Regions from separate parts of the Homo sapiens genome. Here region 2 is linked to region 1. Evidence: promoter capture Hi-C in 16 types of primary human blood cells and fetal thymus (Javierre and others, 2016). All regions are on one chromosome and are shown on one strand. Each heading gives the region's core, a stretch centred on a gene start or on the middle of the fragment in contact. The rest is flanking DNA. Distances are from core to core; before and after follow the strand shown.

What was found. Contacts are between HindIII fragments. The CHiCAGO score rates a contact against its expected background, and 5 or more counts as called.
Region 2: a contact is called between a fragment that was not itself captured here and the fragment with the promoter of ANXA2R in region 1, in 1 of 17 cell types (naive CD4 T cells). The highest score is 5.1, in naive CD4 T cells.

What each region holds. Positions count from the first base shown.
Region 1 is chr5:43,034,565-43,042,451 of GRCh38, forward strand. ANXA2R (annexin A2 receptor) reads right to left here and starts at 5,755. Exons shown (of 1, transcript NM_001014279.3): 1 at 4,807-5,755. The coding sequence starts at 5,482. The coding sequence ends at 4,901. The region is part of intron 2 of ANXA2R-OT1 (ANXA2R overlapping transcript 1); the gene reads right to left. It overlaps ANXA2R-AS1 (ANXA2R antisense RNA 1), which reads left to right and starts at 7,570. Exons shown (of 2, transcript NR_015447.1): 1 at 7,570-7,887. RefSeq lists enhancers at 1-226, 4,637-5,177, 4,869-4,918, 4,939-5,348, 5,359-5,408 and 2 more and a silencer at 5,749-6,018. The HindIII fragment of the contact is 14,499 bases long and covers 1-7,887 here.
Region 2 is chr5:43,556,370-43,564,256 of GRCh38, forward strand. PAIP1 (poly(A) binding protein interacting protein 1) reads right to left here and starts at 708. Exons shown (of 11, transcript NM_006451.5): 1 at 213-708. The coding sequence starts at 477. RefSeq lists a silencer at 144-1,003. The HindIII fragment of the contact is 889 bases long and covers 2,733-3,621 here.

The DNA.
Region 1 (7,887 bases), core at 4,505-7,004:
AAGTTTTGCCTTTCGATCATTTTGTGCCTTTGTCTTTCCCCTTCTCAATAAAATCGTACACAAATGTGAAATTCTTGTTGCCTGTGTTCCTGTTGATGTTGGGTAAGGATGAGCCTCAGGGGCGGGGTGGCTGGTTGCTGGTGCCAGGACTATCACGGGGACCCTGAATCCCCTAGGTTTGCTGGTTGCAGGGCAAACAAAAAGTACAAGAAGTGTGTGTCTTATGCAGAGATTGGAGGGGAGAATAGGCCAGGGGTCGTGCATGGCTGGTGACTCACAGGCTGAGCCTACAGGAAATCCGGTGAACAGGCAGCAGACCTGAGAACTTACTGCAGGAAATTCTCCTGTTCTGAGGCCCTGGAACTTTTTCCCTCTGAAGGTTTGCACCTTTCTATCTTGAGGCCTTGTTAAACTCATAATTTCTGGAAGTTTTCTTCTAGACTCTTTAAGATTTTCTCCATAGGCTCATGTTCTGCATGTATGAATAGTTTCATTTTTTCACTTCCAATGTATATGCTTTCTTACTCCTTTTCTCACCTTATTGCACTGGCGAACAATTCCAGTACCTTGTTGAATAGAAATGGTTGGAGCGACTATCTTGGCCTTGTTCCTGATTTCATGAGAAAAGCATTGAGTCTGTCACTATTACATACAATGTTGCTACAGGTTTTTGTCGACGTTCTTTGCACGGTTGATGAAAATCCCTCTATTCCCACGTTGCTGAGAGTTAGTTTTTAAATTTTAAATCACGAATGCATATAGATTTTCTTAAATGCTTTTTGTGCATCATTTGACAGGATTATACAGTGTTTCTCATTGAGCCTACCAATAGGGTGAAATATACTGATTGACTTTTGAGTATTAAACCAGACTTATATATGGAATAAACCTTACTTGGGCATGGTATTGTTCTTTAACATACATTTCTGATTTCTATTTGTTAGTATTTTGGTGAGGATTTCTGCATCTATGTTTAGGTGCAATCTTGGTCAGTAGTTTTCTCTTAGTGTCCTCGGTTTGCCAGGAAAATGCTGATCTCATAAAATAAGTTGGGAAGTATTCCATATTCTTTTATTTTCTAGAATAAATTGTGTAGAATTTGTTATTTATTCTTTGAATATTAGGTAAAATTAGTCAGTGAAATGGTAAGAACCTCTAGGTTTTTTGTTTTTGTTTTTGTTTTTTTTTTGGAAGATTTTTGACCATGAATTCAATATCTTTAATAATTGCAAAAATTTACAGATTATTTTTCATGAGTTGGGTAGACTGGATCTCGCAGGATTGATGCATTTTATCTAATTTGTTGAAATTATGAGTACAGAGTTGTTGTTAGACCATTTTTAAAAGTTACCATTGTGGGCCAGGTGGGGTAGTTCATGACTGAAATTCTAGCACTTTGGGAGTCCAAGGTGGGCAGATCACTTGAGGCCAGGAGTTGGAGACCAGCCCCACCAACATAGCAAAACCCGGTTTCTACCAAAAATACAAGAAGATTAGCCGGGTGTGGTGGTGCATGCCTGTAATCCCAGCTACTCGGGAGGCTGAGTCACAAGAATTACTTGAACCCAGGAGGCAGAGGTTGCCGTGAGCCGAAATCGTGCCAATGCACTCCAGCCTGGGTTTCAATGGGAGATTGTATAAAAAAAAAAATAAAAAAATAAAAAAGTTACCACTGTGAATAGGTTGACCAACATAAAGACACTGCTAGGTAACAGTCTGCCTCTCTAGATCCGCTTAAGGCTCTTCAGTCAGCACTGCGCTGCAAGAAGCAACCTGTATGGACTGCACTGGAGAGCTACTTTTGCTCCCAGGCTTCTGATTGAGTTTAGACACTGAAAGACAACAGCTGTTCAGAGATATGGATTAGTAATTTATTACCTTGTTTTGTTTCACCTAGACCTCAGGGTACTGAAATATTTTATCTGAAGTAAAAAATAGGCTGGCTGTGGTGATTCACACCTGCAACCACAGCACTTTGGGAGGCCGAGGCAGGAGGATTACTTGAGGCCAGGAGTTCAAAACCATCTTGGGTAATAGAAAGATAAGCCATCTCCACACACACACATACATACACACACACACACACACACACACACACACACACAGTAGCCAGGCATGGTGGCACATACCTGTAGTCCCAGCTACTTATGAGGCTGAGAAGGGAGGACTGCATGACCCAGGATGGTTGAGGCTGCAGTGAGCTATGCTTGTGCCACTGCACTCCAGCCTGGGGGACACAGCCAGACCCTGTCTCAAAAAAAGTGAAAAAAAAAAAAAAGCCAAAAAATACTGTGGAGTGGCCCTTTCTTCAAGCATCTGCTTGCTTTCTCTAACACCACTCATTCTATTGCCCCTACTGAGCTTGAAATGATAATGCTTTCTTCAGGTGCCAGGTCTGGAGTGCTGGTGCACCTATCTCAAAACGCTGTCTCAAAACTCCAACAGGGAGCACCTAACGGTACTGGGTGCAACATTGCTAGCACGGAGCAAACAGCAGTCCAGTAACCTGGAACAACAGGCTCTGCGAAACCAAGGACTCTGACAAAGAAAAATTGCCAATTCCAAACATAGCCTGTTTTAGAGAAATGAATGGCGTTGTCATCGAAAAAACACAGACTCGATTGTGACAGAAATACCGCCACAAACGCAGGTACAGGGACAGCCGACACCGAGAACCAAGGGAAGCGGCTGAGAGCTGCGCCTCCACGGAATAACTGCCAGCCGGCACAGTGCGAGTGAGAAACCGGCCACTCCATGAAACGACCAGTACTGCCACGGAAAAGAATCCGACGTCGCCAACAAGCGGTGCTACCAGGAGAAACGCCTGCTTTTGAAGAAAACAGCCAGGAACGCGACTGAAAGACACTTGCTCCCAGGAAGAATTGGCATTTGTTCCAAAACACAGCTGGATAAACCGAGAACCTTCGGAGTGGTTGCACCGAAACGGGGTCACCCAGCACCTCAGCGTCCTGGGCTCTAGCAAGCCTCACAGAAGCAACCGGCAGTGCTAACACCGAGGAGCACCTAGAGCGGCAAAACTAGCAGTAATGCCATCGACGAAAGGCCAGTTAGGCCAAAAGAATAGAATATTTAGTTCCGGGAATTACAGGCCAGCGCAAACCAGACAGCATAAAGCTGAGGGTCAGCAAAACAAAAATTAGGAACAATTTTTTTTTAAAGGGCAAGTTAGCTGAAAAACACACGCACACACAATAAAAACAATACATTTGGGAAGATTCATCAAATGAAAATTCAAAACTAAGCAAAACATGGAAAAATGGACTCTACAAAGAAGAAAATGCAAACACTTCTAAACAATGTGGTTTCACAGAGGTAATATCGCTGTCAGGCCTATATCAGTATCTGCTCGGTCTCACCAGGACTTCTAACTAAGGGACTGCAGACACTGCTAAACCGCTACTTGCTACTCCTAAAATATCTTCTTCACCTACGTGCCCGGACTTCTATATTTAAAACTCAGGCATAAGTAAAGCAGGGTAAGTTATTATGAAACCGAAAGTTACTGGGACTAAGGAGTCGCAGGCATGGCTATGCTAGTACTGGTTGCGACCAAATATGGACTTGCAAGAGCTAAGAAATCACATTCACAGGGGCACTTAAAATCGAAGCATGCACTTGTTACTCTAAGAAATCCCTAACCCAGGACTCGCTCAGAATATTTCGAACGCAGAATTAAGCATCTTTATCGCAGGCGAAATAAGCCGATACTTATTCCGCTTAAGTCCGAACTTGCTATGCAGAGAAACCACAATCAGGGCTACATTCCGAGTGTAGGAGGTTTAAAACTCCCGAAAAGGCAGTCAAAGCAGGCAGGGCCAAGCCGGACCTGCTGTGCCTACCCGAATTGCTAAACCCAGTTGTGGTACCATTAAGTAACTGGTAGTTCTCTTATAAGCCAAGCTAAACTGTTCCAAAGAAAAAGACGCTGGAAACACTGCTAGCCCTGAGACCCATGAATAAGTAGTCTTTTCAATTATTTATTTATTTTGAGACAGGCTCTCGCTCTGCTGGAGGGCGTTGGTGCTATCCGGCTCACCGCAGCCTCGACCTCCTGAGCTCAAGCAACCCGCCCACCCCAGCCTCCGGAGCAGCTGGGACTACAGGTGCACACCATCTCACAGGGCTAACTTTTGCATTTTTTGTAGACACAGGCCTCACCCTGTCGCCCAGGCTTTTCTCAAACTCCTGAGCTCAAGCAATCCGCATGCCTCCGCTGCTGAAAGTGCTGGGATTACTGCCGTGAGCCACGCTGCCCCGCCAGAATAAGTAATCTTAAGAACTGGTCATCTGTGAAGTTGTATTAATATAAGTAATTGCGTGGTCCTTCCACGAGAAATAGCAAAGATTGATAAACCTCTCAGTCTTATGATCGTGAATAAAATTCCTGAGTGTAAAACAATGAATCGATATACTGAAAAAAAGAAAGACCGCTGTTAAAAATAAAATTAACAATTAAAATTAAAAAGACGTTATAATAACGTAAAAGACATGATATAAAATTAAATGTAAACAAACAATACATTTAAAAAGCAATAATTAGAAAAATAGTAGGAATAAGATTTTAAAATACAATGGAAAAAAACAAATTTTAAATTTGCCAAAAACTCTAAGAATTCTACAATCGTAAAATAGATTTCTCAAAGTGAAAACAGATACGAATGAAATATTTAATGAAATAAATACAAATATTTAAAATACAAGGAAACTGAAAGTAATAAGCGACGCGAAACAAGAAAGAAACATAAGGGAAAAAGAGAATTTAAAAACTGACAACCAGCAATGAAAGCACATCTTAATGTATTTTTATTTTCTAGGTGGAGACGTTTGGTAACTGAGAATCTTTTCAAGGAGGAGAATCCAAAAAGCCTTCTGCTGCTATCTAAGGCTGCTTAGCTCCACAGATCCGTGAACAGCACGCCCAGAGTACAGAGAACGCGGCAAAACCAACGCGAAGAATCCACTCCAGGCAGTCTGAGAAACCCGGGAGGTGGCGCCACGGCTGGAGGGCAGGAGGATGGCGGCGTTCCAAAAGGCACCCGCTGTCACAGACCTCGGTGTCCTGCTGTCTGTCCCAGGGATGGAGAGGACTGCTCCAGGGAAGCTGCTGGAGCCTGAGTCTGTCGGGTTCCTCTGCCTGCCCCACCTCTTCTACGGGTGCCTCTTGCTGCTTCTGTGTCCCCGGCCAACTGAACTCAGTGGGCTTCGCTGTACTTGGTTCCAAGGTGCTCTGGACTCCAGGAGAGAGTCCGTTTTGCCAGTAGACTCCGGGCAGCCGCCAGCAAGGGCTGGAAAGCAGTCCCAAATCACAGCTGTCCAGTGAGTACTCTCCTAGTACTGGATACAAAGGAAGAGGCCACGGCCCACGATCTTCTGAACTCACAATAGGTGGAGGCTGGGGCTCTGGCGCCACCTCTGCGGAATCCCAAGCCCGCTTCACACAGCCAAGAAAATGTTGCTCCATCCCTCAAGCCTCAGACCAACGTTTGCGCTGATCAAGGAGGGAGAGTCTCTGCACTACCATCAGCCTGAGTATTTATGCTCTGCAGAGCCCGTGGGCGGAGGCCAGTCAGATATTAAGAAACTCAGTAGTAACAAATGCACGAAAATTAGTAGACAAATGAAAAACGATAACATTTTAGAGAGTACATAGAACCAAAACGAACCGTAATTCCGACAGAAAAACATGGCGAGAAAAGAAACCGAAATGAAATGACACTAAGCAAATCTTGAAGAGAACTAGCGCTACAGAACGCAGGTATTCAAGAGCGCGCAAGGGCCAAGAACCACCCGTTTCCGGGAAATGAGCGTTGCTGCCACCGGAAAACTGTCTGCTAGGGCTCTGCCCTAACCACCTTGCAAACGAGAAACTGGCGCGTTGAACTTAGCAAGCGCCGGCACCTAGCGGATAGCGCTGGTATTGCCAAACAAATATCCGTTTTGGCGCCGTAAAGGGTGCTGCTAAAGAGAAACAGCATGCTCTTAGAACTAAGAGCGGTGCTTCCACACCTAAACAACCTGTTTGGAGGAATGAACCAACTCTGTTTCAATGTGTTGTACCAGAAAAATGTGTTGCGGCATTTAATGTGTTTTAATCCGTTCAATGTGTTTGATAGGTTTAATATGTTTTAACCCGTTTTAATGGGTTGTGACAGAAAAAGCGCCGGCTAATGGTACCACACAATTACTAGTGCGAACAGCGGCTCGGTGCAATCACCGTTCTGCACGGCAAAACGGGGTTCAGGAAGTTCCTAGGAGATACTAGCGGTTGTAGGAGCGAAAAAGTGACAGCACTGAGAACCTAAGGACCCCGCGAACGGGAAATGTCACGTTGGGTGCAGCAACTGAGAAAACGCCCAGTGGGCGCCACTGGCAAACGTGCTGATACAAAACCGCCAGCTCTGCATAGGAAGCGGAGCCTCCAGACAGAACCCGGAACCTGATACCAGCGAGGCTAAGACCGAGCTCGGCTCCCCGGCTCCTGAGAGAATGAAAGTCAAGAAGCACGAATCTGAGACGCTCAAAATTAGAAGAAAAAAAAAATACATAATTTAAAATAATGAAAGTCTGAAATGCAAGTAAAAATGAAAAACACATCGGTAACATTGTCCTCAGAGCAAGACACAAAAATAATTTTAAGGTAAGCAAAAGTTACAGAGAACCAACCCTACAAAGAAGAAATTACAAATATGGCTAAGCGATGCAATGCCTACCATTAGAATATTTCTGTCAGATCTAAACCCCTGCAGGTTGCTCCTGTCATAATTTCCTACGAGAAAAAAAACAAAAATATCCACGGTTAAACGTGTTTAGCTACGTCTAAAAAATCGTAGTAGCTGGTACATCCCGATTTGGTCTACAAGAGGAAAAAGTCTCGATGGGCAGGACTTGCTATTGTCAAAGGGAGCTTGGTAAAACTGAGACATCGCGATCGCCGGCATTTCCTGACTTCCACGGGAGTTTTAAAAACACACAAGCATAGCTAAGACAGGACTCGATATTGCGAAACCAAACTTGGTATAAGAGCTCCCAACACTGCTAAACTGGTCATCGCTAAACCTTTAAAAAAAAAAAAAAAGCATTCGCTGGTACCCAGATTTCCACAGGAGTTAAACATTTCCTGCGCAGCTAAAGCAAGTCTTACCAGTAGGAAACCGGAACTTGCTAGGACTAAGAAACTTGAGGCTAGGCTGACCCCATGGTTGTTATGATTAGAAATCCGAGGCCACTGGAAACCCGGAGCTGCTGACCAACGAGTCACAGGGTAACTTCGCCTTCGCATGGGGAAACGGGTGAGTTCCTACGGCCTAGATATCGCAGCCAGGGCTAGACCGGTGTTTGTCTTAAGTCAGGACTTGCTTGGGCTGAGAAAATACATTTTGGCTATTCCCCTACTTGGACAGAGGGTGGAAATCCCAGGCACCGCGAAATCGAAACTTGCTAGGACTAAGAAGCCAACGACGCGCGAAACCGTGGGGTCCTGCGACAGAGACGCCGGCGGCGCCGCCACAGGACTGCGTTCTGGAGGCCGAGCCGGAACCCGTGCGGCGGCGCTGGGAAGAGACTGTGCCCCTGCAGCTCCCCTGTCACCGGCTCCAAGGAGCGTCGGGCTCCCCCCGCCCAGCCCTGCAGCACCCATCCGGCAACGCCAGACTCGGCGCAACGGGGGCAGCTGCGACTTTAAATCTCTCAGATCCGCGGCCTGAGGGCTGCCGCCACCGAGAAATGGAGGCACAGAGCTGTGAACAAGAGACCACGGCTCGCCGAAATGGCGGTGCCAGGAGCCTGAAAGGGAATGCAGCCGGCGGGGTTGTCAAGGACAACATTTGTTTTGGCGCAACCAGCGGTGCCGTCACCAAGAAACCGTCG
Region 2 (7,887 bases), core at 1,927-4,426, 520 kb after region 1:
CTCCCCCCAGCCAGGCGCACAAAGGATTCCAGCAGACACCTTCCAAACCCGGTTCCGGGCCCGTCCCTACCCGGTCACGCGGCCCTCTCGGGGAATGCTTTCGGGGAACCGGGGGTGGGGACCGCAGACAGCGCGTCGGGCCTCGGCACGCGTGGAGGGCCGTGGGGAAGCGTTCGCCAAGGAGGACTGGGGCCCTTAGAGCTGCTCCGTACCTGGGAGCGCCCCGGGCCGGGAAGGCCGCTGGGGGCTGGCGGGGACCTCGCACTGGGCCCCTGGCGGCGGGGTCGTCCTGGGCTGGCGCAGCGGCGGTGGCTGCAGGAAGCCCGGGGCTTTGGGTTGCGGCGGCTGGTGCCGCGCCCGCTCAGCAGGCCCCGCTCCGTTCGGGAAACCGCCGCCCTCAGGCCCGCCCCCTCCGCGGCCCAGGCCCCGGCTCCGGCCCCGACCAGCACCTGGGGCCCGATCGAAACCGTCCGACATGCTCCTCCTCCTCCGCCTCCTCCTCCAGGGGCCGCTGCCGCTGCGCTCGCGATAGGACGCGGGGGGAAGGCGCCGCGGGTCGGCTATAGCCGCCGCGCCTCACTCGGGCCTCATGGAGGAGGAGGGCGGCGGGCCCCGGCTCGGCTGCTCGGTGCTTCTGGCGGAGCGGACGGCAGCCCGAGCACCCGCCGCTCCAGAGCGCCCGCCCCGCTCGGCTACCCTCGGCTTTCCAGTTCTCCCCCAAAACCCGGCTCCCCGCCTTCGGCGCGGCAGGGGCGCAGGCGGGTCACAGCGGCCCCCTGCGGCCCGGAGGCCCGGGACGCGCCCGCGAGGATCCTCCAGTTCGCGGCTGGCCGGCCGCCGGGCCCAGCAGGCCGCCCGCCGAGTGGCGTCTTGGCCACCTGCCGGCCCGCAGCCAGGCTCGGGCAGGGGCATCTCGGTTCCGGGGCCAGGCTGGGGGGGATGAGGGATGAGGGGTGAGGGGGACGCTTACCACAGGCAGGCCCGACCTACTCGGTAGTTCTCAGGAGAGACGTGCGAGACCGACAGTTGACGCCCGGGAAATAAAAACACGGGGGGAGGGGGCGTGGACCCTGCGCCAGGGTTCGCTGGCGCACAGGTGTGTTCAATGACTCGGCTCCGGCCGAGACCCGCGGACTGCTGAGGAGTGGTCCCTGGGAGACTGTCACCTGCTCCGTTAGCATCGGGGGAAGGGAGTAGAAACGGAATCAAAATATGTGTCCCCTCTTTAATTCACCCTAGGTGTTTACCACAGTAGGTCACACCTACGTTTAACAAGCTTCGTTCTCTTCCCGTTAACCTTCCCCTCCAGAAATTTCAAGAAAATGTGCTACCTTTCAGTGTAACTCTGCCCTCTTTTTCATCTTGCATCAGTGCTGTCCAATGAAAATATAATGCGAGCCACAAATGCAAGCCACTTATGTAATTTTACATTTTGGAGAAGCCACATTAAATGAGTGAAAAGAAACAGGTGTGGCCAGGCGCAGTGGCTCACGCCTGTAATCCCAGCACTTTGGGAGGCCGAGGGGGGCGGATCACCTGAGGTCGGGAGTTCGAGACCAGCCAGACCAACATGGAGAAACCCCGTCTCTACTAAAAATACAAAGTTAGCCGGGCGTGGTGGCACATGCCTGTAATCCTAGCTATTCTGGAGGCTGAGGCAGGAGAATCGCTTGAACGCAGGAGGCAGAGGTTGCAGTGAGCCGAGATCGTACCGTTGCACTCCAGCCTGGGCAACAAGAGCCAAACTCTGTCTCAAAAAACAAAACAAAACAAAACAAAAACCAGGTGAAATTAATTTAAATTTATTTAATCCATTATGTTCAAAATGGTTTTTTAACATGCGATTTAAAATATTAAATATTTTCTCTGTTTTTTAGATACTAGTTGAAATCCAGTGTATATTTTACACTTATGGCACATCTTAGTCGGGATTGGCACATTTCAAGGGCTCAAGAGCCACATGTGGCTAGTGGCTACTGCGTTGCACAGCACAATTCTAGATTTTATTAATATGTAAATTGTTGTTTTTGTCAGGCCTGACAGTATTAATGCCAAATAAAGGATAGATGAATATAAGTAACGACAAGGAAGGAAAAATTGATTTCTTTACTGTTGGATTGATCCATCTCCATAAATTCTGATTTTAGCCTTTTGTTTTAAGCAGGGTTTCATGTTTTTCTATCTTTTCATCTTAAGAATCATTTCAATTAGGGACACAAACTCTTGTTAACCGTTTTCTCTTCTCATTAATAAAGAAAACAATGTCTTCCCCTAAACGAATGAGAAAATGGCTTCACCGAGGGCAATCATGAATAAATGGTTCATGCTATTGATGTTAGGCAAAATAATGAAGTCAGGGAAGGAAGCCAGCAGTACGTGTGGCTCTTCGGTGTACGGAAAGTTTAGGATTCAGTCTGCCAGAGCTTAGTTGGGATTCCACTCTTGACTATTGCTGTCTGTGTGATTTTGAGTAAGTAAGGGGTTTAGCTTCTCTGAGCCTCACTTTCCTCATCTGTAAAATAATAACTGTGTGGTAACACTCAGCATATATTGCAGAGACAAGATTACAATTTAAAAATTACAATTTTAATATTTTCAAATTCATTATTGTATGTGGTCACCAGTCACTTCTTGCCTGGACTTTTTTATCATACAGGAAAGACCCATAAACTATGCTAAAAAACTAACAATGAGTTATGTTCCACTGAAGTAGATGCCCCAACTCTGCCCCAAGCTTTTGTTTGCACTCACCACCTTTTCATTTCCCCTTAAAACTTTTATGATGAACAGCACCTTTTCTAACAACTGGGACTTTCCCATGTGAAGATAAGGCCATTCTGCATCCATGGTGATGTCACGACATCTTCACACCCTCTTGTTAGGAAAATTAGGTAAGATATCCTTTGCCTTCTCTGTATTTGTTACTGTATAACTTTTGCCCTATTCTTATAATGTGTGGATGGTGGACTTGGAGATAACACGAATGGATTTTGCATCATGATAATAAAAATATCTAATATTTATTATGCGTCAGTCACCTTTTAAGAGCTTTTATTTTATCATTTTATTTTATCCTCATATCCTGTGAGATAGACATTCCAATATTTTCACTTTACATAAAAGGTGCCAAGATACCGCAAGGGCTCAGATCCATCTTGGGACTGTTTTAGAGCTAACTGGCAGGTATTGCAAAATGCATAGACAGAAACACATGAACGTGTGAACACCATGTGGAACTCCCTAAAGAGAATCATCAAAGTGCTCCTCATCCACGTGTATGCCTTTTTTATTAATTTATGGTGAAAGGAGAGTAGAACTAAATTTGGACAAATTGGAAAATATGTTGTAATATGGAAAAGGACCTGCTGTGAACTATGAAAAAAATGTTTCCTTAAACTGTACTTGAAAGGCATTCTCCAGTAAGACTTCCCAAGCTGCCTAATCTTAGATTCTCTCCCTTGTGATAAGTATACCCTGGGAAAACTGTCTTGGTACTTAGCATGCCAGATTGTTATCGTTAGTATTTGGTTTATTTAAATGTCTCCTTCCCTAAACTAGCCCTCTGAAGACAGAGGATGCCTTTTAATCCTTTAGGTCCAACCCAGTACTTAGTCCATAATAAGCTTTTAACAGAAATAGGACTCACCTGCAATGGTCCTGCCTTTCCTTAGGTCACCAGTCTAGTGATGGTAAAAAAAAAAAAAAAAAAAAAAAGACTGTTTTTTTAGAACTTATTGACCTCAGGATCATCATTAGACCTTATGGGAGTAGACAGTACAGCCTTCAAGGCCAGCTAACAGGAGAAAATTTTCATAAATATGCAAGAGGAAATATTTGCAAACCACATGGTATAGTTTGTATATTTGACCCTCCAAGCCTCCTGTTGAAACTTGATCCTGAATGTTGGAGGTGGGGCCTAATGGAAGGCGTTTGGGTCATGGTGGCAGATTCCTCATGAATGGCATGGTGCCATTCTCACAGTAACGAATGAGTTATGGTTTTACTAGTTCCCAAGGAGTTTCCCCAAGAGCTGGTTGTTGAAAAGAGCCTGGCACACTCCCCCTGTCTCATGCTTCCTCTCTTGCCATGTAATCTCTGCACACTGTCTCCCCTTCACTTTCTGCCATGCATAGAAGCAGGCTGAAGCCCTCACCAGAAGCAGATGTTGGTGCCATGCTTCTAGTACAGCCTGCAGAATAGTGAGCCAAATGAAACCCTTTTCTTTATAAATTACCCAGCCTCAGCTATTCCTTTATAGCAACAAAAATGGATGAAGGCACCACATATTTGACAAAAGACTTGTATCTAGAATATATAAAGTACTCTCAGAACTCAACTGTATTGAGAGTACTATAGCCAGGTGCGATCCCAGCACTATGGGAGGCTGAGGCGGACAGATTACCTGAGGTCAGGAGTTCGAGACCAACCTGGACAACATGTGAAACCCCGTCTCTACTAAAAATACAAAAATTAGCAGGCATGGTGATGCGTGCTTGTAATCCCAGCTACTTGGGAGGCTGAGGCAGGGGAATCGCTTGAACCCGGGAGGCAGAGGTTGCAGTGAGCCGAGATTGCACCACTGCACTCCAGCCTGGGTTGAGCGTGACTCCGTCTGAAAAAAACCCAAACAAACAAAACACCTAACTCAACTGTAAAAGGACAGTTCAGTTAGAAAAGGGCCAAACATAAATGAAAGAACACTTCACTGAAGGGAATATACAGATAGCATAAGCCTATGAAAAATGTTCAACATAATTAGCCAGTAGGAAAATTTTTTTAAAACCACTGAGATTTCACTACCTACTTATTCGAATAGCTTAAATAAACAATAGTGACAATGCAAATTCAAGGATGTAGAGAAACTAGGAACTGTGTTGCTCATACATTGCTGGTGAGAATGTAAAATGCTATAGTCACTTTAGAAAACAGTTTCTTTAAAAAACTCTACATATTAAGTACTGTACTACCTAGCAATTGCACTGCTGGACATTTCTCACAGAGAATTAAGATTTATATTCACATAAAATCCTGTACCCAAATATTTAGAGTGGCATCATTAATAAGAGCCCCAAATTAGAAAGAACCCAAATATCCTTTGATGAATAGTTAAACTGTGGTACATTCATACCACAGAATGCTACTCAGCAAAAAAAAGGAACAACTGCTCATATAAGAATGTTGATGGATCTCAAGGGAATTATGCTGAACACAAAATTTCAATCTCAAGAGCAATTGTATGATTCAATTTATGACAAAATTATGAAGATGGAGAGCAGATTTGTGGTTGCCAGGGGTTAAGGAGGGAGTGGAATTTAGAGGCAAGTAGATGGGGTTATTAAAAAAGTAGGTAGCATGAGAAAAACCTTGTGATGGAACTATTTTGTTCTTTACTATAATGATGGTCACATAAGTCTATACATGTGATAACATTGCATAGAAATAAGTGTGCACACATACACACACATACACACATGTGCATATAAAACTAAGGTTGGTGAACTGTATCACTTATAGTTATACAAGATGTTACTATTGGGGGAAACAAGGTGAAGAGTAAACAAGTTCTCTCTGTATTATTTCTTACAATTGCATGTGAATCTACAACTAAGTTTTAGAAACCTAACATATAAATAAACTTCGTTCCATGTTATTCCATCACTCCTAATTCTCTCCTAGCTAGTTCAGTTCACTCCTTTCTGCACAAATCATCATGGCAACTTACATATCATTATAAATGAGTGGGGGCATCATTAAGAGAGAAAAAAATTAGCTGATGCATTTGTCCTTGTGTTTCTCATCTGTGTAAATTATCTTCCTCTGGCCACTATTAAAAGTAACCCCAGGCAGTCAGCTCTTGAGACTCCCATCTGGATTAGGGCCCCAATTCATCTTAGAGTCTAAGATAGCCAGGAATGCTGCTTGGAATCTCCTCAATATCTACTGATACTTGTTTAACGTTGATCTCTTAGCTGTACTGTAAATTCCACGAGGCTAATGAAAGAAACCAAAATATTTCACCTTGACATAGTTCAAGATGGTTATTTGGATGGGCTGAAAATATAAGAGTAGCTAAAAACCTGCCTTTTTTGGGGAAGATTGGATCTGTAGAGACAACTTGCATTGATGCAGTGAGGCTTTCTCTGAGACCCTCACTTGTCCCATCTAGGAAAGATTAACTGAGACTCTGATACCTTTAAAGGTTTATAAACATTCTCTCTGAGGACTGCTACCTGTGAGATTTCATCTACATAATAAGACCACCTTTGCTAGCCAGTTCTCCTCTTCTCTCTCTCTCTCCCCTACCGTGTCTTGCTACTATAACCGATTTAACACCATAATCTGTTTTTGGCTATGTGCTGGGATTCCTCTCTTTCTGTAACTTCAAGATAGTAAGTATATCAGCTTCTGTACCCCATTTGGGTAATTACTTTCTGAGTCTCCTCTGAGCATAGTCATTTCTTTTTTTTTTTTTTTTGAGACGGAGTCTCGCTGTGTCACCCAGGCTAGAGTGCAATGGCATGATTTCGGTTCACTGCGACCTCCGCCTCCCTGGGTTCAGTGATTCTCCTGCCTCAGCCTCCCAAGTGGCTGGGATTACAGGCACACGTCACCACGCCCGGCTAATTTTTGTATTTTTAGTATAAACGGGGTTTCACCATATTGGCCAGGCTGGTCTCGAACTCCTGACCTTGTGATCCACCTGCCTCGGCCTCCCAAAGTGCTGGGATTACAGGCGTGAGCCACCGTGCCCGGCCTCACAGTCATTTCTTTTAATATATCTTTTGTCAGTTGATTTTTCAGTAAAACTTTAGAGAGCAAAGGGGAAGTTATTCTTTGGCCCCCGCAATAGGAATTCATTCATTCACTTGTTAATTCAACAAATACTGATTTTGTGTCTACTTCATGCCAGCAGTGTTCCAGGTGCTGAGGATATGCAGGGGTGTGAGATTAGTAGGTTTGAGGCATATGAGACATGAAGCAGGGAAACAAGTTCGGTGGCTATTGCAGACGTTCTGGTGATAAATGATGGTGTCTAGTAAGGTGGTGCTAGTGGGTTTGGAGGGAAAGGCCACACTGAAGAGATGTTGAGGAAGAAGTTGACAGATTGTGTGTGAGGCATTAGTGAGAGGCCAGAGATCAGGGTGAGTTCCAGGATTCTGGCTTTGGTGCCTCAGCCTGTAAGATGGAAAATACCAAAAGGAAACAGATTTAGGGATAGACGCCAAGGAAAATTTCTGCTTTGGCCTCTGAAGTTTCACTGAAAAATTTGCTGACAAAAGGCAGACTAATTGGAGAAAAGACATACAAATTTCTTAACATGTACATGGGGGAGAACCATAGAGTGATCACTCCAACCCCTAATGGGGTTCAGAAGCTTATATACCATATTGAGGTGACAGGAAGAATGGGGGCTTAGATTGTGACAAAACAGGTTACAATGACAAAACAGGTTATGGGAGACAGAGATAAGAGGAAGCCTGGCTAGCAAAGGTGGTCTCGTTATATAGATGAAACCTAATAGGTAGCAGACCTCAGAGAGGCTAGATGGTGAATAATTTTTCAGAACTTTAAAGTCATCAGACTCTCAGTTAATCTTTTCTTGATATAGACATTGGAAGGCCTCAGAAAGAACCTGGCTGCATCAATACAGATTTTCTCTACAGATGCAGCTCTCCCCCACAAAAGGCAGCTTTGCAGGGATACTTCTATTTGCAGGCCCTCTGAACAGCCATGGCAAAATATGTCAAATAAATACATTTTGGGGTGAAATATTTTTATTTCCTTCAGTCCTCATTTTGAAACTTTAAGAAGGTTTACATATTAAAAAGCCGAGTTGATAGCTTTGGAGAAATTTGGATCAGAGGTTTTATTAGTCTATTCTCATGC